Linked DNA regions of Homo sapiens: region 1 is linked to region 2. The links are contacts of gene promoters, found by promoter capture Hi-C in human tissues and cell types (Jung and others, 2019). All regions are on one chromosome and are shown on one strand. Each heading gives the region's core, a stretch centred on a gene start or on the middle of the fragment in contact. The rest is flanking DNA. Distances are from core to core; before and after follow the strand shown. Region 1 holds the start of DHDDS-AS1 (DHDDS antisense RNA 1). Region 2 holds the start of LIN28A (lin-28 RNA binding posttranscriptional regulator A).

What was found. Contacts are between HindIII fragments. The study calls those that stand out against the background at their distance.
Region 1: a fragment that was not itself captured here is called in contact with the fragment with the promoter of LIN28A in region 2 in 5 of the 25 tissues and cell types used here (bladder, dorsolateral prefrontal cortex, lymphoblastoid cells and 2 more).

The regions. Positions count from the first base shown.
Region 1 is chr1:26,462,573-26,467,845 of GRCh38, forward strand. The region is part of intron 8 of DHDDS (dehydrodolichyl diphosphate synthase subunit); the gene reads left to right. DHDDS-AS1 (DHDDS antisense RNA 1) reads right to left here and starts at 4,965. Exons shown (of 3, transcript NR_125953.1): 1 at 4,476-4,965; 2 at 804-861; 3 at 184-298. The HindIII fragment of the contact is 4,677 bases long and covers 986-5,273 here.
Region 2 is chr1:26,408,912-26,414,401 of GRCh38, forward strand. LIN28A (lin-28 RNA binding posttranscriptional regulator A) reads left to right here and starts at 1,906. Exons shown (of 4, transcript NM_024674.6): 1 at 1,906-2,011; 2 at 2,475-2,671. The coding sequence starts at 1,981. RefSeq lists enhancers at 55-614, 615-1,172. The HindIII fragment of the contact is 10,463 bases long and covers 1-5,490 here.

The DNA.
Region 1 (5,273 bases), core at 2,074-4,573, 55 kb after region 2:
TAGTCAAGCTTGTTGGAATTATGTATATAAAATGAGAGTGAACTGGCTCTGCATGAAGCCCAAAGGAGCTTGGTGCATGAGTTTTTGTGTTTTTACCTCTAATTGGGCTGCTCAGAAGTCTTTTATAGTAATTTCACGTTTCTCAGATACTTTGCATATGGTTGTCAGAGGAGTTAACTCAAGTTTCATTCATTCCATAAGTATTTATTGAGTAGTATGAATCAGGCACTGTATTAGGCACAGGAGAGTCAACAGGTAGCCAGAGGGACAAGATCTCTACCTTTGTGGAACTTGTATTCTTGAGGAGACAGAAATAAACAAGTAAACAAATATATAAGTTCCGATTGTAATAAGGCAGTGAAGAATACAGAGTGATGTGCTAGAAAGTAATGAAGAGAATGCAAAGAGACTGAGGTTAAAGTTTGGGTCTTGGAAGAACAAAAAAGAGGTCAATGTGCCAAGGGAGAAGGGCAGGAAATGAGGCTAGAGTCAGACCTTGGCTCATATAGAGCCTTGTAGGTCATGGTAACAAAGCTGAAGGACTTTAATCAGGGGATGACGGGATCTGAGTTGCATTTTGTAAAAATCATTCAGAATTTTCAACGGGCTGGAGTTAAAGCCAAGAGACAGAACTCCTGCAGTAGTCCAGGTGAGAGAGGATGCGCCTCGAGGTAGGGTGGTGGCAGTAGGGAAGGGGAGGAGTGAAGACGGGATAAAAACAAATGTTGAAATAGAAACAAGTGAAACTAGCTATATCAAGGTGATAATATAACTCCCCAGAGAAAGGAATTAATTCAGCTTACCTGAACACAGTTCTCTGCTATTCATCTTTAGTGGAATTTCTTTTCAGGATAATACAAACTGCAACACAAAATTAAACATTACTTAAGAGGTTTATTGTTAGTGGCAATGTTGGTAATGTAATTATGAAACTCTTGTTTCTTTTTTTTTGAAATGGAGTTTCGCTCTTGTTGCCCAGGCTGGAGTGCAATGGCGTGATCTCGGCTCACTGCAACCTCCGCCTCCCAGGTTCAAGCGATTCTCCTGCCTCAGCCTCCCAAGTGGCTGGGATTACAGGCATGTGCCACCACATCTGGCTAATTTTATATTTTTAGTAGAGATGGGGTTTCTCCATGTTGGTCAGGCTGGTCTCAAACCCCCGACCTCAGGTGATCTGCCCGCCTCGGCCTCCCAAAGTGCTGGGATTACAGGCGTGAACCACCGCGACCGGCCTGAAACTCTTGTTTCTTGTAGGCTAAAACAAATAAGTACAAATAATAATGTTATTAGGAACCAAGACACTTAGGTTGTGGCCATAGCAATTGGTTGTATAGTTCTGCTGTTTCCTGGGATGGGGTGGAAGGTGTTTGAGGTCAACTATTAAGTGTTCCATTTTTACCTATGGATCATATTTGCAAACTTTTTTTTTTTTTTTTTTTTTTTTGAGACGGAATCTCACTCTGTCGCTGGAGAACAGTGGCATGATCTCGGCTCACTGCAACCTCTGCCTCCCGGATTCAAGCAATTCTCCTGCCTCAGCCTCCCATGTAGCTGGGACTACAGGCACGTGCCACCACGCACAACTAATTTTTGTATTTTTAGTAGAGACAGGGTTTCACCATGTTGGCCAGGCTGGTCTCAAAATCCTGACCTCAGGTGATCCACCCACCTTGGCCTCCGAAAGTGCTAGGATTACAGGCATGAGCCGCTGCGCCCGGCCTATATTTGCAAACTTTTATTGAGTTCTTACCACATGTCAGGCATCCTTCCAGTATTGAGTTCTTACCACATGTCAGGCATCCTTTCAGTAAATTCTGTGAACTGCTTTAAGGCAGATACTATTATTATTGCCTCTGTTTTTAGAGCAAGGAATCCAAAGTTATAATAGAGATACTGATTATCTTGAAGCCTTCTCCAGCAGGAGCCCTTGGAGGTCCTGGCCAGGCTTTCTCTACCCCAGAAGCTTCAAAGCTCTGTTTCTAGAAATCATATCACCTTGGCAGATGCACTAAGGGGAGAATCCAGACTAACAGCATCCTCACCAGTTTGTTCTCAGACCAGAGAGGTCTTTCCAGGCTTTTCTCATGTCTCCCTTTTACAGACCCTGTATCATGGCCAAACTGGACTCTTCCCAGTTACCTGTTCCATGCCCTCCAGTTTCCTACCTGTATGTCTGTGCTCTTGCCCCATCACCCAAATTCCCATTTTAAAATCTGAGCTGCTCTGTCTCTAGGCCCTGCCCAATGTGTCCCTATTCTCTGCAGGAAGCCAGGGCAAGGGGCTAGGCTCTGGACCTAGAGTAGCTTACTGAGAGGAAGGCAGCGGGTGGATCGTAAGGGAAGCAGGGACTTGGCTACAAGTTGTGGGGAGCCAGACCTTGGTATCTGAATGGACCATGACAGTCTCCAGGTGGTCACCTAGCCAGTCTTAAAGGCTGGCAAAGGGAGATCTTGACTATGATGCAGTAGGACTTGTCAGCAAAGAGGCAGGGACAAATAGAGAATCAGGCCAGGGAGGGGGTGTGCGGCAGTGCAGAGCAGCTGATCCTCAATCACAAGTTGCATGGATGGTAGGTCCTTGAGAGGTCACTGATGGAGATGAGTAAAAAGTGTTCACCTCATCTCCAAGGATGATATTAGAGAGGGAAAAGACACATGTTCCCACGAAGCTTCCTGTAGTACATTTGTCACAATTTAAACGGGCTGGATTGAACATTATATTTCTTCTGCTCTTCAGGTTGTCACTATCTTCTCCTCAGGATAAAAGCTTGAGTTATGTATGTATGCATATATGTATGCATGTGGAAATGGGGTCTCGCCATGTTGCCCAGGCTGGTCTTGAGCAGCTGGGCTCAAGCGAGCCTCCCACCTTAGCCTAAAAGCTTGAGTTAATGTCTCAGACATTCATGACTTTGAATATTGGCACTGCCTACATAGCTATATGACTGTACAGTTACTTAACCCCTCAGAGTATCATTTTCCTCACCTGTAAAATGAGAGAAGTAGCGTTTACAGTAATACCTACCTTGCAGGTTTGTGATAGGGATTCAGTAAGCTAACACATGTCAAGTGCTGAGTGCAGTGGCTGGAACAGAGTTCATTTTCCAAGAATGGTGGCCAATATTGTTCCCCACATGTGTGTCTCTTGGCCTCTCCTCAGACTCCTCTCTGGAAAAGCACCCTGCACATCCTGTCCCCAGTACAACTCCCCAGGCAAGGAGACTCTGAGGGTGCTTCAGAACATCATGTTTCTGGTAGGAGGTGCCCTTCTCTGCCTGAGAGCAGCCCTCAGAAATGCATTCCTCATGCTGCTGACCTGGGCTGGCTGGTTGCAGCTTGGGGAAGGACTTTTCATTGGCTAATGTTTTGAAGCCAAGGACCTGCAGCCTCTCTCCAGGTGCCAACAGAGTGGTAGAGGACTTTTAGATTTAAGTACTGGAGGGACTATTACATCTTGTTCTCTGATTCTACCAAGGAGAGAATAAGAGCAGAGAGGGATAATGCCCAGGAGGAATTTAGATTCATAGGTTAGAACCACATTTCTCAAAGTGAGCTTCTTGGAGCCCTTGCACCAAGATTGGATAAGGTCTGTACAAAAAGTCTCTAAGGAAAGAATTAACGCCCTCACTTACCCTGATTGGTCATTATACAAGGATAGTAGACAAATGGTCAGGGAGAGAAAAGTTGACCTCTAGGACTTCTGTTAGCTTGGATTTCCCAAGGGTAAGTACTTGAGAAGAACTGGAAACACCTCTGAGATTGAAAGGGTAGATTCAGACCATGTGGAAGCTGGATAGACAGGTATCCAGATACAGGCCACCAGCTTTTCCACCCCTAGAAAGTAGAGCTTATACACAGGCACGAGATACACTTCACATTGTCCTCTCAAGAAGTTATCTTAGTGGAGAAGCCAAGGGAACTTCAGCCATCTCAGCCTCGCTGTCATTTTCTGTAAAATGACGAGCAGACACCCTCCCAACTCTGCTATCTGAACAATGAACTGCTAATTCCTGGCAGACAGGGGCCAGGCTCTGCCTGGGCTACAGCCCCCATTGCTGGCATGCACTCTGATGCCATCTGGAAGAAGCTTGCGCCTCATGAAGTGGCTTTAGCTAGCTCCATATTTCCTCCCTCTGTTGCTGAGCGTCCCCCATCCTTTCTGTTCTGCCAGAAACTTAGACTACTTAGCCCAGTCCACAAGTGGCGGTGATAGAACAGCTAACAGTTAATAGCCAAGCAGTAGGCTGAAAATTCATTATCTCATTTTTCCTCAAACAACCCAGTGAGGTGGGTACTCTTATCCCGGTTTTGCAGAGTAAGAGAGAGCCTTAGAGAGGTGAGGGAGGCCTTAGGAACTTCTCAAACCCCAGTGCTCCAGGTGGACTTACTCTGGCCTTAACAGGCTCTTCGGTTCCATGCATCTTTGCTCATTACTCCCACTGCCAGAATATTCTCCCTGCCCCCCACACACCTCACCTCTGTTTGAATCCTCCTCATTGGTTAAAGGGCCAGCTCAAATTCTGTCTGTCCATGAAGGTCACTGCTCCGTGATGTTCATCAGCCACACTTGCTTTCTCCTCTGAACTGCATGACCCTTACCACATCCTATTTTGCATCGTGGCACTCTGTGTGCATGGCTGTACAATCAGCCTGTAAGCACCTGGATTGCTGGGATCGTGTCCTGCGCATCTCCATATCCTCAAAAAAAATCCTGTATGTAGCACCCAGGGAGCCTCCTGACCAAGGCCTGGAAGAAGCCCTTCCAGCAAGACGGAGAGCTCTACGGCAACTGTTCAAGCCCGAAGTCCTCATAGCTCCACATGTAATTCATTGTAATAGCAGAAGAGAAGTATTCTTGAATGCCTGGGATTATTCAGGAGCCGGGGGGGACAGTCCAGAATTCTCATTTGTCATCCTTATTCATGCAGTAAACCTTTATTGCTGAGAGACAGCAAATCAGTTCCCTGCTCCATGTCTGTCTCCAGCAGAAAGTACCTCCCTCACAGCTCCATTGTGAGGGTCAAGTGAGGCAACAGATGAAGTGGTTGTGCACATGTAAGATATTCTTTAAACCATGAAGACAGAGCAGTCAAGGTGCTTACAGGCTGATTAGGACAAAAACATGTATACAAGTTTATCGTAATACAAGGTAGAATGTGGGAAGGGTCATCAGGGTATAGGATACCATAGGAAAATAGAGTTTCTCACACATGGAATAGGTTTGGCAGGAGGAGCTCTAGTGCAAAGGCTTTGCAGGTCAGTTAGACTGGCAGG
Region 2 (5,490 bases), core at 656-3,155:
GCGCCACTAACAGCGGGAGATAAGACTTTTGGGAGAGGAGAATTATGTAAATAAAAATGGCTTTGGCTGATGTACTAGGAGAACTCTTGATAATTCTAAATTAGAGTCCTCAGATGGGAGTGGGGCACTGCTAATAATATTTGTTAACGATATGTATTTTTTAGGCGGAGCAGCAAAGGGCCACTCTTGTCCTTTTTACCCCACGAAGTCCCACCTCCCATTCCTTACGCTCAAGTTTTCATTTCTTGGAGAGCACCCCGTACGAGAGAAAGGGAAATAACTTCTGCAGTCTCTTGCTTTCCTCCCCATCTTCCCCTTCCCTACCCCCACTCATCCGGTCTCTCTGAAATACACATGTGCCCACATCCGCACGTGCACACACACACACACACAAACACACACACAGAGCCACAGCGTGAGAATTCCAAAAGGTTCTGCACACTCGGTGGAGAAGATTGAATTCAGAGCAAGCGGATGCCCCCGAAAGCAGGCTCTGTCCCTTTAAATGGGTTGTAGTGGTGGGGGAGGGGAACTGGCCGGAGCTGGCATTGTCCAGTTTGAACTGAACACCGGAAGTGAAGGGGCAGGGCCAGGGCCGTGCACTGAGCCCCGGGCCATTGTCCATCTCCGACCAGGGCAGTAGCCACCCCCACTAGCCAGCCGTCTTTATCTCCTAGAAGGGGAGGTTACCTCTTCAAATGAGGAGGCCCCCCAGTCCTGTTCCTCCACCAGCCCCACTACGGAATGGGAGCGCATTTTAGGGTGGTTACTCTGAAACAAGGAGGGCCTAGGAATCTAAGAGTGTGAAGAGTAGAGAGGAAGTACCTCTACCCACCAGCCCACCCAGTCCCTCTCTCAGCAGTGGATGGGGATGGGGTGGGGGTAGGACGAGAAGGCAGCTGGTGGAGAAACAGCTTCAAGACTCTTTGGGTTCCTCCTGCTCTCCAGGGAGCTTACCTGGGGCTAACTTTAGACACACAGGTTTGGAGGGAGGAAAGAAGGAAGAATTCTTTACAACGAATCAATTAAGAGCACTTTCTCTTTTCTAACTGGGGGAGGCCCAGAAAAACTCTGAGTCAGAAACTCTGGGAGGCAGACATTCAGATGTAGTCAGAGGCAGACAGACTTTGGAAGGCAGCGCTTTGGTCAGGACAGATCAGCCCTGTGTGTCCCCAGCCTCTCCCCTGCTCCCCCATCCCGGGCTTCCCAGTGTCCAGAACTCCAGGTCTATCTAAGCACACGGGGGTGGGGGGTGAGAGCGGGTCAGCTCCAAGCAGCCGGGTCAGCTCAGAGGCCTGAGGGGGAAGAGAGGGGGAGGGGAGCTCAAGGGCTGGGGGAGGGGGAGGGCCCATTCATTTCTCCCTTGACAGGTGGTTTGTGTTTCTGATTGGCCAGCGCCGCCAGGCTCACACCTCCCTCCCCCAACTCTCTGGAATGTATAATTATCTGCCCGGGGGGTGGGGGTGGTGTGTGTGTGTGTGTGTGTGTGTGTGTGTGTGTGTGTGCAGTCACGTGGTTTTAAAACTACCCCCCCCACCAGGTCCCCCACCTGTATCTGCTTTGGGGACCCCTACTGAGTCCAAAGTGCAGGATCTCAAATTCCGGGGTACTCAAGTCTTCTAGGGCAGACAGACCCATCTCCAGTTGTGCGTGTGGGGAGGGGGTGTCAAACCTCAAGGTTCTGAGAAGGGACACCCCAGAGGTGTCAGAGACCGGAGTTGTGGGGGAGGGCCGGAGCTGGAGCCGGAGGGAAAGGGAGGGGAAAGGAGAGGGAGGGGAGGGGAGGGGGCTGCCCGCGGGGGGTTGGGTCATTGTCTTTTAGAATTTGGGAGCCTTTGAAAAGCCGTGGGCCCTCCCACCGCTATTGTGCGGGGGAAGATGTAGCAGCTTCTTCTCCGAACCAACCCTTTGCCTTCGGACTTCTCCGGGGCCAGCAGCCGCCCGACCAGGGGCCCGGGGCCACGGGCTCAGCCGACGACCATGGGCTCCGTGTCCAACCAGCAGTTTGCAGGTTCGAGCTCGGGACTTAGCGGGGACACTTTAGGATTCAGGGGCGGCCAGGAGCCACGTAGAAGGGAGGTGGGGAACTGAGTCCTAGGCTGCCCAAAGGACCCCAAGACGGTGCGGCCTTCTGCTTCATAGGGCCGTCTCTGGGGCCAGGAACCTTGGTGTCCCAGTGGCGTGCGCGCCAGACTACGTGGGTGGATGGAGAGGAGAGGCTTGTCCCGCCGTGAGTCTCTGGGAAACGCGTTGTGGGAAGAGGAGCAAAACTTTCGGGGCACTACTGTCCCGGTGTACGCTAGGGGAACGCGGGAGGCGACCGGGATAGGTTTCTTCTCTTCTGTTGCTTGGTAGCTGCCCCCTCCTGGCTGTCCACTTGTGGGGCTGGATACTCGGGTCTCCCTGCCTGGGGCCCGAGACGGCCCTCCGATTCCGTGCCCCCCAGCTAAGTGCCCGGCCCTCCCTCTCTCCAGGTGGCTGCGCCAAGGCGGCAGAAGAGGCGCCCGAGGAGGCGCCGGAGGACGCGGCCCGGGCGGCGGACGAGCCTCAGCTGCTGCACGGTGCGGGCATCTGTAAGTGGTTCAACGTGCGCATGGGGTTCGGCTTCCTGTCCATGACCGCCCGCGCCGGGGTCGCGCTCGACCCCCCAGTGGATGTCTTTGTGCACCAGGTGAGACTGATTCCGGTAACTTTGCCCAGGGAAGGGCGTCTAGGCGCCCATATCCACGGGTGGGCTCCGGGCTCGCAGTTGAATTGAGGGCCATCGGGAGCCCTCATTATGCATCCCTGTCTTTGCTTCGGCACCCCAATTCTGAGTCCCTGTTAACTATCTCGTGGGGGAGTAGTGGGAGGCAGCACCAATTATCAGCACCCCCGCCCCCTTCCGGGAACCCCTCCGGCTTACCACGTGTCTATTACCTCTTTCCCCTGGGAAGGGGCAGGGGGCAGGGAGGTGACCCCATGTGGCAGAAACTAAGGTTGTATTGTGCTTGCCGGTGGGGGGAGGGCGAGCAGGCCGGCCAGGGAAGCACATGCCGGGCCTAAGCCGGGAGCCCAGCTCCTCCAACGTCTGAATGGAGCTCAGAAGGCGGGAGAGAGTGAGGGCAACTGGCTACTGGACCCAAGGGGCGTAAAGCCGAGAAGTCAGCCTCATCCCCTTTTTAATGCAGACCTCACCTGGCTGGTCACTAAAAACTGGGTTTGGCAGATCCCTGAAGGATCCCTGTGGGGGCTTGAAAGCTCAGGACTGGGGTCTTTGCTGTCCAGTTCCCGTGAGGAAGGAAAACCCAAAGAGCCCAGGCCTTCCTTACATTCCTGGGCCAGGCTGGGAGGGAAGTCGGTAGGTCGCAACCCCAAGTTCTCAGTTAAAGCAGGGCAGCACAGTAGGGGGTGAAATTCAGTGTCGCAGGGCAGGGGGTGAAGGGAGGCTGGCCTCTGGTCCTATTCTCCGCTTGGCATTTATGGCCCCAGACAGCCATTGATTGCTGTCTTAACATTCCTGGCCTCAAACAAGGAGCCAGAGACTTCAGGTCTCCCTCCTCCCAGGCTTCCCCTTCCTGAATATCCTAGAGGCATTCCGGTGGTCCTGGGCCACCAGCTACCCATAAAGACCATGGAAAGGAAGTTGCTTGCTGCCTATGGCCCTTCCATCTTTGGAGGTTTGGGACTGGATCTGGAAAGAAGAAATTGCTAATCCCAGATCGTGTAGGTTGACACCCAGGCCGGGCAGGGAGGGGTTACTTAAGGGAGGTTGGCTTTAGGAGGTGTGGGGGAGGGGAAAGGAGGATGTGGGGATTAAGGGTTGGAGCCTGAAGGGATGGCATTCTTTGGGGGAGGGGTAGAGAAGGGAGATGCTGGATGGACTAGTTGGAGGCAGCAGGGACGTCTTTGAGCACAGCCTTCAGTGAGGAACAAACAAGGGAAATAGACGCAGGGAGATGGGGAGCCACCACTTACTGTTGGGGCCATGGGGTCAGTGGGCTACTTGAACATCTGCCAAGAGGACCTGCAGCAGGATACTGAGCTGCCCCTTTGCAGCACCCTTATTCCCCCAACCCCCCATTAGACAGCTAGTTTCCCACTAGTGGCTTTTCTCCCTTCTCTGTCTCATTTACATATGTGAATGATAACCCACAGGAAGTAATTGTGGGAGAAAGAAGGGAATTGGCCTTTTTAGATCTATTAAATCACTTTATTACAGGAACCAGCTTTGAATGGCCCTCCTCAGCAGGGTAGCAAGCCTCCCCCACTCTCCCATTTATCTGATCACAAAGAGATTAAAATCTTTCCTGGTCTGGGGACTGGACAGCTCCCCCAACTTTGGGAGGCTGGAATAAAAGAGTCAGACCCAACGTTTTCTCATCTCCCATCCAAAGGCTGCCAGATAGGGAGGGGCTGAGGGGAATGTATCCCCTCATCTTCTGGGTTCCTTGGTGATATACATACCCCAAGGAAGGTGTTTTCTTGTTTTGTTTGTTTGTTTGTTTGAGCAAATGGGGACTTGGGCCTCAGCAGGCTTCACCTTAGGATCTAGAGCAATTGGGAAACTATTGGATGGCATAGAGCAGGCATTGAGTCTACACCATGCTGGGTCAGATGTGCTGGCTTGGAAATACTCTGGATTTTAGGCTCTTGGAACATCCAGGAACCCATAGTTGAGTAAGTTGTCAATAGGGAGCTGAGCTGGAAGAGAATTAAGAATTTGTCTCTCTAATCCCCAGCTCTTCCCATTCTACTCACAAAGCACAATGATGGGTGGAAATTCCCTGAGCCTTTACCTGGTAGCTCTGATAATGGTAGCATGCCAGAAAGGCTTGGGTCAGGGGTCCTCCAACCCCACCTTAACCGTAAGTTAGATTAGTGATTCCAGTCTTTGCACTTGTTTTTTTGTTTGTTTGTTTGTTTGTTTGTTGCTTTTTTTTTTTTTTTTTTTGAGATGGTGTTTGGCTCTTGTTGGCCAGGCTGGAGTGCAATGGCATGATCTCCACTCACCGCAACCTCCGCCTCCCAGGTTCAAGCGATTCTCCTGCCTCAGCTTCCTGAGTAGCTGGGATTACAGGCATGTGCCACCACGCTCGGCTAATTTTTTGTATTTTTAGTAAAGACGGGGTTTCTGCACGTTGGTCAGGCTGGTCTTGAACTCCTGACCTCAGATGATCCGCCCGCCTTGGCCTCCCAAAGTGCTGGGATTACAGGCATGAGCCACCACTCTTCTGCATTTGTGAAATTAGAAATGACTCTCTGGAAATCTTATGGTAAAGGAATTTAGTAAACACAGGATAAATTGTTTACTGGGGGAGGAGGAAAGTGTTCCCGAAGCAGAGGGTAAGAAATCTTTAACAAAACTTCCCATTCTTTGGCTGCTGGGGTTGGGCACCCTGGGGTTGGGGTGGGCTGGTGAGAAGGTAATTGTCCTAAGATAGCATCTACCAGAGGGAGGGGGTCAGGGAGCCCCTTTGCAAATAAAGAGGAAGGGGGAAAGGCAATTTA